Linked DNA regions of Homo sapiens: all the other regions are linked to region 2. The links are contacts of gene promoters, found by promoter capture Hi-C in blood cells and fetal thymus (Javierre and others, 2016). All regions are on one chromosome and are shown on one strand. Each heading gives the region's core, a stretch centred on a gene start or on the middle of the fragment in contact. The rest is flanking DNA. Distances are from core to core; before and after follow the strand shown.

Evidence for each region. The method cuts DNA at HindIII sites, captures the fragments that hold promoters and counts their contacts. A CHiCAGO score of 5 or more calls a contact.
Region 1: a contact is called between a fragment that was not itself captured here and the fragment with the promoter of UNC5A in region 2, in 1 of 17 cell types (endothelial precursors). The highest score is 6.7, in endothelial precursors.
Region 3: a fragment that was not itself captured here is called in contact with the fragment with the promoter of UNC5A in region 2 in 1 of 17 cell types (endothelial precursors); the score reaches 5.4 in endothelial precursors.
Region 4: a fragment that was not itself captured here is called in contact with the fragment with the promoter of UNC5A in region 2 in 1 of 17 cell types (endothelial precursors); the score reaches 6.3 in endothelial precursors.

The regions. Positions count from the first base shown.
Region 1 is chr5:176,902,056-176,904,755 of GRCh38, reverse strand. No RefSeq gene overlaps it. Among named protein-coding and RNA genes, the nearest start is that of HK3, 4.1 kb to the right of the region's middle. The HindIII fragment of the contact is 505 bases long and covers 1,063-1,567 here.
Region 2 is chr5:176,809,112-176,811,811 of GRCh38, reverse strand. It overlaps UNC5A (unc-5 netrin receptor A), which reads right to left and starts at 1,253. Exons shown (of 15, transcript NM_133369.3): 1 at 992-1,253. The coding sequence starts at 1,061. The HindIII fragment of the contact is 10,823 bases long and covers 1-2,700 here.
Region 3 is chr5:176,713,394-176,716,093 of GRCh38, reverse strand. No RefSeq gene overlaps it. Among named protein-coding and RNA genes, the nearest start is that of LINC01574, 28 kb to the left of the region's middle. The HindIII fragment of the contact is 3,923 bases long and covers 1-2,700 here.
Region 4 is chr5:176,920,230-176,922,929 of GRCh38, reverse strand. The region is part of intron 10 of UIMC1 (ubiquitin interaction motif containing 1); the gene reads left to right. Among named protein-coding and RNA genes, the nearest start is that of HK3, 22 kb to the right of the region's middle. The HindIII fragment of the contact is 1,330 bases long and covers 731-2,060 here.

The DNA of each region.
Region 1 (2,700 bases), core at 66-2,565, 93 kb before region 2:
ACCTGTCCCTTCATCTTGTACTCACACAGTGGAATTCTCAGCCTGAGCATAGAACATTTGAAGGATGTGTCCTGCCATTCTTCCCAGGAATGTGCAAGTGAACACTCTGTTATTAGATGCCTATGCAATTATTTTTTCTAAATAGATTAACCAGTGGGGATGCCAGGCATATTCATCTGTTCAAATCAAGATTGGGTCTCTTGATGCCAAAGGTTAGCAGCAACAGGACATGGCTTCTGTTTTGGTAACATTACTAACATAGCGCACATTCCTCACCGTGTTGCCTAGGAGCTTCCAGTGCAGAACAGAGATGTGGTCTGTTCTCGGTGCATGCCATGTGCAGACTCTGAAGATGAGAGGATGTCAATTGGCAGAAGGAGCTACCTGAAGGAGATGACCAAACAAGGATGTGAAGAATGCTAGTTTTGGCCAAAACTGATTTGAAGTTGTAATGAAAAACTGGGGGAGGTGGCTGTTGACCAGGAAAGGATCTTGGGACAGGATAAACAGGCACACTCAAGACTCTCCTAACTTCTGATTTTGTCCAAAGTTATCTTTTCTTTTAACATGAAAACGAGGTATGTGTTAGACTGGGGAGTTAGCAGATAGCTGGGATGGAAGACAGCACAAACATTAAGGCCTTGTTCCTGCCTAGGTCCCTTTGCACACAACCTTTTGAGTTAGAAGAAGGCAAGATGGCAGTCTCACTGTCTTTTCCTTCCATAGATAATGTCTTGCTGTTGGATGGCACTGACCTAGTGGCTAGCAGCACATAAGAAATAGCTGTTATTTTTTGAGCAACTACTACGGTCCAGGCAATGTATGTGGCCTTCATTTAATCCTCATAGCAACCCTATGGGGTATAGGTATTATCATCTCAATTTCCAGATGAGGAAGCAAAGGCTTAGAGTAACAAATAAGCCACTTTTTGTCCATGGCAGTGGAACCACAGTGCCCCTACTCTTCATTCCTGAAGAAAATGCTATATTTTGACTCCAGTATTGATTATTTTCCTGTTTTTCTTCTAGTGAAAAGTAGTTTATCAGTTATGTCCCATAAGCTTAACTCTCGCTTGTTTTCTCTTTCATTAAATGGCAATTTATTGGAGGTAGCGCTGTATAAACAGGGGACAGTGTGTGTATCTGTTTGCCTGAAGATAAGAAAAGGGAAAGGGTACTTCTGGAAAGTGAATTATTTAGCTTAAAATTGAGCAGTTTCCCTAAAACATGAGTCAGCAGCAGGAGGGTATGGATCAGCCAGACCAGGAACCACAGGCTTAATTATTAGCTAATGGGGAGTCAAGGGAAGAACAGCTACCCACTTCCCCCATCGCCTCCTCACAACCGTCTTGTTTGCCCACAGTCTTATTCTCCCCATGCTGTGATCCTGTGAGAGGAGCATTAGTGAAAGAGTGAAGAGACAAAGTATAAAATGTGTGAGATCAGCCTACATCTGCACCCTGCTTCTGATAAAAGTTAACCTCTCTGAGACCTGGCTTTCTTGTCCATAAAATGGGAAAAGATCATACTAACAGGGTTCTAAGGATTACCATAATGTGGATAAAGCTTTGATCCAGCACAATGTCATCACATAGAAGAATGAGTTAGTGGCAGCAGTTATTAATGTGATGCTAGTCTATGTGTCACAAATGATGTTGCACTGAGGGGTGGAGGGATGGGGGACGGGTGCAGATGCAAGAGGAGATAGTTTTCAGAGGAATGTGTACTCAGGAGGGACTACTCGGGCTCCATCAACCATCAGGCTTCCACAGGAAACTTGGGTCCCAGGCATCTAGAGTTCTCCTAGGGCCCCTGGATTTCTTTTACTTCTGAAAGATGAGAAATAGCTGTTCTGCTGATGCTGCCAACTCACGGAGAGCTGGGAAGCTCCATAAACTTCACAAGCTATTGCCGTAAATTGGAAGAGATAGAGGGGGACTTCTCTTTGTTAGGCGCTGTAGTTGTGCTTTTTCATTTAGTCCTTACAGCAGCCCCAGCAGAGGTTGTGCCTCGCCCATTTCCCCCAGGCATTCGCCATTCTGCTGTATACCCACAGAGTCCTGTTGCAAGTACCTGAGACTCTGCCTGAGGACTTCTCTTGGTTTGTGTTGGCACAAGCTGAGAGTACCAGGGAGTTAGTGCCCCTGGGACAGCTCTCAGCCAGTGGAAGTGGGAGGATAGATACCCCAGCTTCCTCACTCAGTGAGGGACAACTCTAAGGCACATTCTACCTATTTCTCAGGGTTCCCTGTGGGAGTGAACCTCTCTAAGCTCCCAGTAACAATTAACGTACACTTCCTTGGCTTCTTTCTCTTCCTACCTGGCTTCCAGCTCCTCTTCTGTATTTTCCTGATCAGGACTGGGACTAGGGTGATGAGCCTTTATTCTTGGGTTCATCTAAGTGCAAGGTTGGCACCCGTATGAACCTGAGAGGGTCTCTTTACATTCTGTACCCTAGGCATATCATTTGCATTGCCCTGATTCTGGCCCTGTCCTGGATCACTTCCCAAATAAAGTTATTTGCATTCAAATTAGGTCTGCCTCTGGGTTTACCTAACCTAAAGCAAATCCTATGAAGACATCAGTCTCCAAGTTTTATACAAGGAAAACCGAGGCTCAGAGGAATAAGAAATTTGTCTAAGGTCTTTCAGTTGGTAATGAGATGGGATTTTGAAACCAGGTCTGCCTGACCCCAGAGCTG
Region 2 (2,700 bases), core at 4-2,503:
CAGCAAGAATCGAGAATTGCCAGGGTAAGCCTCAAGCCCCCTTGACCACACAAATGGCACCCACCCCCCACCACCACAGACACATACGCTCAACTCAGCTAAGTGCATGGGGGGCAGAGATCAGGAGGCCCCCACAGCTCAGCCTAGGTGAAGGCTCAGGGACAGCAGACAAAGGATGCAGGGGAACTTCCTCCCCCCAAGCCCCTCCCAAGGGAATGAGGTGGGCTGAGGGCTGAGTTAGCAGTGGGTTAGGGTGACCAATGGGGCATGCAGGGGCCAAGAAAGGCTATGGAGTTTAAGGAAGAAGGGGAAACTGGCGGACCAACCACACACAACTCTGGCCCCCCGCACCAGGGAGGCCAGGAGCCACAGCCCCGGCCACCGGGACCGCGGCGCTTTGACTGTGCTGGCTGCAAGGACTGGGGGCTGGTGTATGCGCCTCCACGCCTGAGTGTGTGCGTGTGAGAGCGTGTGTGGCGGGGACAGAGGAGGACACTGTGTTCTGGACGTGGGCAGAGGCCAGGTGCCAAGCTGGGAGATTGTGAGTGGCTGTTTAGGGCAGATGCTACCGGGAAGAGGTATCTTAAACGTTCCCCGCACCCCCCATTTCCTGGGCACTGGGATAGGCTCAAAACCCTCTAATCTTCGAATCCTCAAAGTCAGGCTCCCTGGGGTTGATCCAAACCCCCAGCCCTGCTCCGGGCCCAGGCAACCAGCAAACTTCCCCCACCCGGAGGCGTGGGGTGTCTACACTCGCCAGCCCCGCGGGCTGACAGCTGCTCCTGGACTTGGCAGAACCCAGGCTTCCGGGAGAGCGCGCGGGGAAGCTGCGCAGCAGCAAGAAGAGCCCCCCGCGTCCCGCCTCGCAAAGTTTGGCCTCGGGGGGCTCCCAGCCGGGTCTGGCAGCGCTGGTCAGGGACCCCCAGAGCAGCGAGCGTTCGCGCGCACGGTCCCCCGCAAGCCTCCCCAGAGCGCGCGCGGCGTGACTCACCCGAGCCGCGGAGCCAAGCGGCGAGGACTATGCCCAGGAGCGCTGGCCACAGGCCGGGCCGGACGGCCATGGCCGCGGGCGGGCAGGCGGGCGGGCCGGGCGCGGGGCCCCGCGGGCGGGAGGGCGGCTTTAGCGCCTCAGCCCGGAGCCCCAGCTCGGGGCGCCCCCGGGGCCCATGCCAGCGGACTGCGCTGCCTCCGGGCGGCCGGCTGCCGGGCGCACGCGGCGCGTGGCTCCCTTGGGCACGGGAGCGCAGCAATGCAGCCGGGGCGGAGCGCAGCGCCAGCCGCGCCGCGCACCGAGCCAGCCGCGCCGCGGAGCCCGCAGCCGGAGAGCGGGCCGGTGGGCGCCGCAAAACCCGGACTGGAGCGACGGAGCGGGGCGGCGGCTGGGAGGGGCGGGGGAAGGAAGGAGGGGCCGGGCCGCCCCGCGCAGCGCGCGCGGGCCACCCCCAGCACCGGGAATCCCTCTGGGCGATGCCTGAGGCTCCCCCAGGGAGGGGCTTGGGGTGGTGGGCGTGGAGGCCTCCCACCGCCCCGCGGGGTCTCCAGGGACAGGGGCAGGAGTCTGAAACCCGGAGTGGATCGGTGCTCCGGATCCGGGCTCTCGCGGGCCCGCCAGTCTGCGCACAGGTGGCCCGGGAGGGGCCCGGGGCTGCGGCGACCCCGGCGCGGCGCCAGCCTGCGGAGAGCCGCCCAGGGCAGGGGTGCCCCGGGCAGGTTCCGCTGCAGTCCTCTCCCCCGCCCTTTCCTCGCGGCCGCGCTCCGGGGTCGTCCGGGCGCCGCGGTACGCTGCCAGCCCGCGGCTTGGTTAGGGGACTGCGGGAGAGCCCCGGGGCCCTGGCCCGCGCGCAGAGGTGCCCTGGCCACCAGAGCTGGCAGGCCAGACTCGGGGACACCCGCAGTCCCAGCCTCGCAGGCTGGTGGATTCCAGGGGCGCGCCTCACACCATGACCCAAGGTTTCCCTAACCCCTCGGCGCCGTTCGCCGAAGGAAAACAACCTTCAGGCGCAGCACACCCGACTGGGCGCGCGGTGTTTGAGCCCCGAGAGCGCACGGCGCCCGCGACGTGGGTGTAAAGGAACGAGCTGGGCTTTGGCAGCTAGGGAGACCGGGGGTAGGGTCCAGGCGACTTCACCTTCCAGCTCTGTGACCTTGGTCAAGTCACGTCGTCTCCTGGAGCCTCCAGCAGTGACCGCTGCTGGAGTCTCCTGTGCCCCACCCCCATTCCCTAATCGGGTTAAAATAAACAGAGGGCTGCCTTGAAGGAGAAAGGAAATGACAGCCGCGTGCGGTGTGCCTGGGGGGAGTGATCGGAAAAAGAGAGGGTCCTAGTCTGGGTCGGGAGGGGAATGAGCAGGGTGAGGGCAGGGTCGCAAACTCAAACGCCTACGGGGCCGGTCGATAATATAAATTGGCGCTGCAGGCTAGGCGATGTAAGGGATGGTCTTGCTTCCACAAAGAGATATGAGCTCTCCTATATTTCTTGAGACACGAGGCCCTCTCTCGGTCTGTCTTTTGTTTCCCACTTTTGATAGAGAAGGGTTATGAAAAATGTTTTGCTTTCCTCTTAAGTCTACTATAAAAAACACCAGCTAAAGCTCCAGAGGCAACCATACAGACGCTGGGCTCCATCGCCAGGGAGGCAAAGGGCAGTGCTGGGGACAGGCACAAGGATCCCATCTCAAGGGGCAGCTGCCTTTTCTGCTC
Region 3 (2,700 bases), core at 25-2,524, 96 kb after region 2:
GCTGAGATTGCGCCACTGCACTCCAGTGTGGGCAACAGAGCGAGACTCCATCTCAAAATAAACAAACAAACAAACAAACAAACAAAAACAAAGAGTAAAAATAACAGTGTAAAGAAAGGGACCATGCAAGGTTATCTCCGAAGAAAATCTTTACAAAGTGTATTAAAAACCTCAGAGAGATAAGAGATGTTACATCCACGAAGAGCTAACAAAATGAACAGTCAGAGAACAGAGAGTTGAAGGAGAGTTCTTGGAAATGAAAAGCACAAATGAATGATTTTTAAAAAAGAAGAACGAAAGGATGGCTTAGAGGGCAAAAGGGAGGAAACCTCCTAGAAAACAGAGCAAGAAGACAAAGAAAAGCAAAATAGGAGGTAAAAGTTAAGAACATTGAAAGATCAATTCAAGAGATTGCACATATGAATAACAGGAGTCAAGAAAGAGAAAACAGAGGGAAAGGACTCATACCCGAAATAACTCAACAACATTTCTCAGAAATGAGGGACACCAGTTTTGGGATTAAAAGGATTCAGTTGCTCACCACAGTGGTTGAAAACACCCACACCAAAGTACATTGCTGCAGAACTTCAAGTTTCCAGAAAAACTAGAAGACAAGAAGTAATGCTTTAAAAATTCTGAAGGAAAATTATCTCCAAACTCAATTCTATACCCAGATAAACTACTTCTCAAATGAGAAGAGAGAAAAATACTTCTGCAGACCTCTTCCCCTCTTTCTTAAGAAGCTACTTGAGCCTGTGGTCCACAAGGGAACAAAGCAAGAAAGCGATGACCATAGACACAGGGAGCCCAACCACGGGGAGAGGGCAGAGGGAGTCTGGGTGATGGTGACAAGCCATCCAGGGTATCTACTGAGTCCCGGGCATAGACTGGAGGCAGTGTGAACATCTGCAACCAAGCCCCAGTGCAGGGCTCCCTGTGTGTAATCCCCTGTCCCTCTGAAGTGGACAGACAGGCATGGTGAAAGTCGGAGGAACCACCCTTCTACCGCCAAGGCCCACAGTGAGGCTGAGTGAGGAGGAACAAAGTACTGCGCTTTCCGAACACCAATGGCTAAGCTGGGCACGGTGGCTCACACCTGTAATCCCAGCACTTTGGGAGGCCAAGGCAGGCGGATCACTTGAGGTCAGGAGTTTGAGACCAGCCTGGCCAATGGGGTGGAACCCCGTCTCTACTAAAAATACAAAAATTAGCCAGGCGTGGTGGCACATGCCTGTAATCCCAGCTACTTGGGAGGCTGAGGAAGGAAAATCACTTGAACCTGGGCAGCAGAGGTTGCAGTGAGCCGAGATCACGCGACTGCACTTCAGCCTGGGTGACAGAGTGTGAGACTGTCTCAATTAAAAAAAAAAAAGCCCACCAAAAATGTGAATGGCTGTGCTGAACCTAGGCCTCTGGCAAGAGGCTTCTCACACCGGCCCCCCGCAGACTATGGTGCAGGAGGAAACACAAATGAAGGATTCTCCTCCATCTGCACCTGCATGTGGGCAGCCTCTCTGGCTGTGCCACTGAGCTTTGGGCAAAAGTGACAGTCTCCCCCTTGTGTAGAGCATAAACACGGGACGCAGGAGCAAATTCCGGAGTGTTCTGGGTGCTCTGGAAAACAGGTGAATGGGGCTGAGAGTGACTATGGTAGGGAGCGTGGGGCAGGCCCCCTAGGGAGGGGCATGTGAGCCGGGGCCTAATGATGAGATGAGTGAGTTGTACGAGGATCCTGGGGCAACGTGTTATAGGCAGGGGGAGCAGCAACTGCAAAGGCCCTGGGGGGGTGGGGGATGAGCTCAACACATGTTGAATGAGAGGAAGGAGGAGATGAGTCAGGAAGGGGTGGGGCAGGGCCTGGATCAACTAGGGCTGTGGGGCTGTGGTGAAGAGGACAGGAGAGTTTTAAGCAGGGGCAGGCCTTGATCTCATTTACCTGTTGTCACCACTAATGTCCTGGGACCAAGGTGCCTAATTGCCTTCCAACACCCCTTTCTCCCTTCTGTCTCACTATAGTCCTGAGCAAGGGGCTCAGCTTAAAGAAAACAAAAAGAAAATAGAACAAAAAAAACCCCCTACATTTTCCAGCCTCTCTTGCAGCTAGGTGTGGTCAGTGCACTGAATTCTGGCCAACGAGACGTAAGCAAATGTGTGTGGGACTTCTGGGCAGACTCCTTGAGAAGGAGGAGCTAGACCCTCTTTGCTCCTCCATTTTTCCCCTTCCAGCCTGACATCATGACTGGAAGCCCAGCAGTCTTTCTGGGCCATGAGGAGACCTTAGGATAGAGGCCACATGCTAGGAAGGGGCAACAGATAAACAGAAGGAGCCTGGGTCTCTGATGCACACAGTGGTCCATGAGCCCTAGACGGCCAACCTCCCAGGCTTGTGTGTGAGAAGAGGTATGCTCTGGAGGGGAAGCTGCCACTTTCAGCTCACCCTGACTACTGAGTCGTCTCCAGGGGCGGCTGAGTTCTTACATCAGACCCTTGGAATCATTGGTAGTTTGGGGGTGTTGGCTTCACCTGCCAGTTCCTCCACCCACATGCAGGCTGTAGGCACCTCAGAGAGGGCTGCTACCCTTGGAATCTCAGAGTGTGAAAGAGAAGAGGCCCTTGCGGGAGGGGAGGACCCCCGGGAAAGCACACCCACCTCCTTGCTGTGAGAGGGGACTCCGGAGTCTTCTCTTTGCTGTTTCATGG
Region 4 (2,700 bases), core at 146-2,645, 110 kb before region 2:
GCCTACTCAAAATGTAGCGATTTTCTTTCAAGCTTAGAGATAAGCCTGTTCTCTTAAGAGGTGCACTTTTACTGATCTACTTCCTTACTAGTACTTGTCTATAATATTTATAGCTTAATCTTTAACAGCTGAAATTTTTGTTTAAGCAATTTGATAATATATACGTAGAACTTAAAAGTAATTCATATCTTCTGACCCATGAATTAAAGTTTGAAAATCTACTCTAAAAACGTCATCAGAATTTAGATGAAATTGTATAGACAAAGATGGTTTATCAAAGCATTATTTATAACAATGAACAACTTAACCCAATGTTCAAAAACAAGACGAAGTATTATATAAGGATTCAAAATAAAGACTGAAAGAAAATACAGTATTCTGAAATATTAACCATAATTTGGAGGAGACTAAAAGCAGAGAGACAGATGATAAAGCAGTGTTAGTAGAAGTGGACGGACTTGAGAATCTTTTGGTGAGAGAAGCAAACCTTGTGACTGGTCAAGATGAGAGAAGGCAATCTTAACTCAGGTTTCTGGCTAAGCCAATTGTAGGGTACTCAACTTAGAAAGCCCCTCTGAGTAATTCAGAAGATCACTGTGTTGTTTAACTATTGCTTGTACTTCCTTACTGACAACCCAGTTGGTATTTATTTAGCAGCAACTATAACGCAGATACTGTTCTGCAAGCTGAGGGTACAGTACTAAACACAAGTCAGTGTTCTTATAAAGCTTACCTTTTTGTGAGGGAAACAGATAATAAATACAATTTAAGAAAAACAAGGCAAGAAGAGGGGATGGAGAGTGACTAGAACAGAGGAAAAAGGGGGCTCGATTAAAGAGAAAGATCAAGGGAGACTTCTTGAGGTGATATTTGAATAGAGTCATTCTAGGTCAGGGAATAAATACAAAGGCCCTAAAGCAAGAGTGTGTTTGGCATGTTTCTTAGAGCTGCAGGAAAGACACAATGACTGAATTAGATTGAGCGACAGGGGGAAAGGAGAGAAGAAATAAACAGTGGTCAGATCATGTGAGGTGAGGTTTTTGTACTTCATTCCAAATATGATGAAAAGCCATAGGGGGGTTGAGAACGAGGGAATGATGTAATCTAACTCTGGCTACAATGTGGAAAATAATCTATAGAGGGATGGGGCAAAAATGGAATTGAGGAGACTAAGCAGGGGTGGAGGGGAGTGGCTGTTGCATTATTCCAGGGAAGATCTGATGTTTGCTTTGACCATAGAGGTAGCTGTGAGGTAAAGAAGTTGTCAGATTTGGGAATGTTTTGAAGGTTGAACCTACAGGATTTATTGGAGTGTGAGAGAACAAGAAAGACTAAGGTGAAATCAAGGTTTTGCCCCAAGCAACTGGGTTAATGATGACTTCGTTGTTTGAGAGCGGGAACACTGGGGCAGGAACAGGTTTGGAGGAAGAAATTAAGAATTTGGTTTTGTACATAATTTTAAGATGCCCAGTGAATAACCAAATGAAGATGTTGAGCAGACAGCAGGATATACAAGTCTAGAAATAACCTTATGGGAAATATTACTGCATATTTGTATGCTGATGGAATGATCTAAAAAAAGAGGGAAAAATTGATGTTTCAGGAGAGATGATGGCAGGAGGGGAATCCTTAATTAAGCAAGAAGCGTTCAGATTCAGGATCAAATGGAAAAGTGAGCCTTAGATAGCCGTGTGGGCAATTCATTCTGTGCAATAGGAGGGAAGGCAGAGGATATGGGTACAGATGCAGATAGACTAATACTTTTGGTGGTGGAAGAGTGTAGAAGTTCTCTCAAGTACTACTTTTTTCTCATCAAAAAAGTCTGAAAGGTTGGTTTAACATTAGAAAATCAGTTAATATACTGTATCATAGAACAAAGGACAAAAACCACACGATATCTAAATGGACACAGAAAAAGCATTTGAGAGAATTCAATACTCCTTCATGACAATAAAATACTCAGCAAACTAGGAATAGACAGGAACTTCCTCAGCCTGATAGAGGGCGTCTATGAAAAACTCACAGCTAATATCATACTTAATGGTGAAAGACTGAAAGCTTTCCCCAAAATCAGAAACAAGACAAGGATGTTCATTCTTGCCACTTCCATTCAACGTGGTAAAGGAGGTTCTAGCCAGGACAGTTAGGAAAGAGATGAAATAAAAGCCATTCAGGTTGGAAACGAAGAAGTAAACTACTCTATCAGATGACATCTTTTATATAGAAAATCCTAGAGAATCCACTGAAATAAAACAAGCCTTTAGAACTAATAAACGAGTTTAGCAAGTTTGCAGGATACAAGGTCAATATAGAAAATGAACTGTATTTTTGTACACTAGCAGTGAACAATCTGAAAGTGGATTTAAGAAAACAGTTACATTTAATATACTATCAAAAATAATAAAATACTTAGGAATATGTTTGACAAAAGAAATAAAAAACTTCTCTGAGAATTATAAAACATTGTTGAAAGAAATTAAATAAGACCTAAATAAATGGAATGGTATTTCCTGTTCATGGTTTAGAATACTTAATGTTGTGAAGATGGCAGTATTCACCAAGTTGATCTACAGATTTCAAATCCTTTTCAAAATCCCAGCTAGGCTGGGCATGGTGGCTCACGCCTGTAATCCCAGCACTTTGGGAGGCTGAGGTGGGCGGATCACCTGAGGTCAGGAGTTCGAGACTAGCCTTACCAAT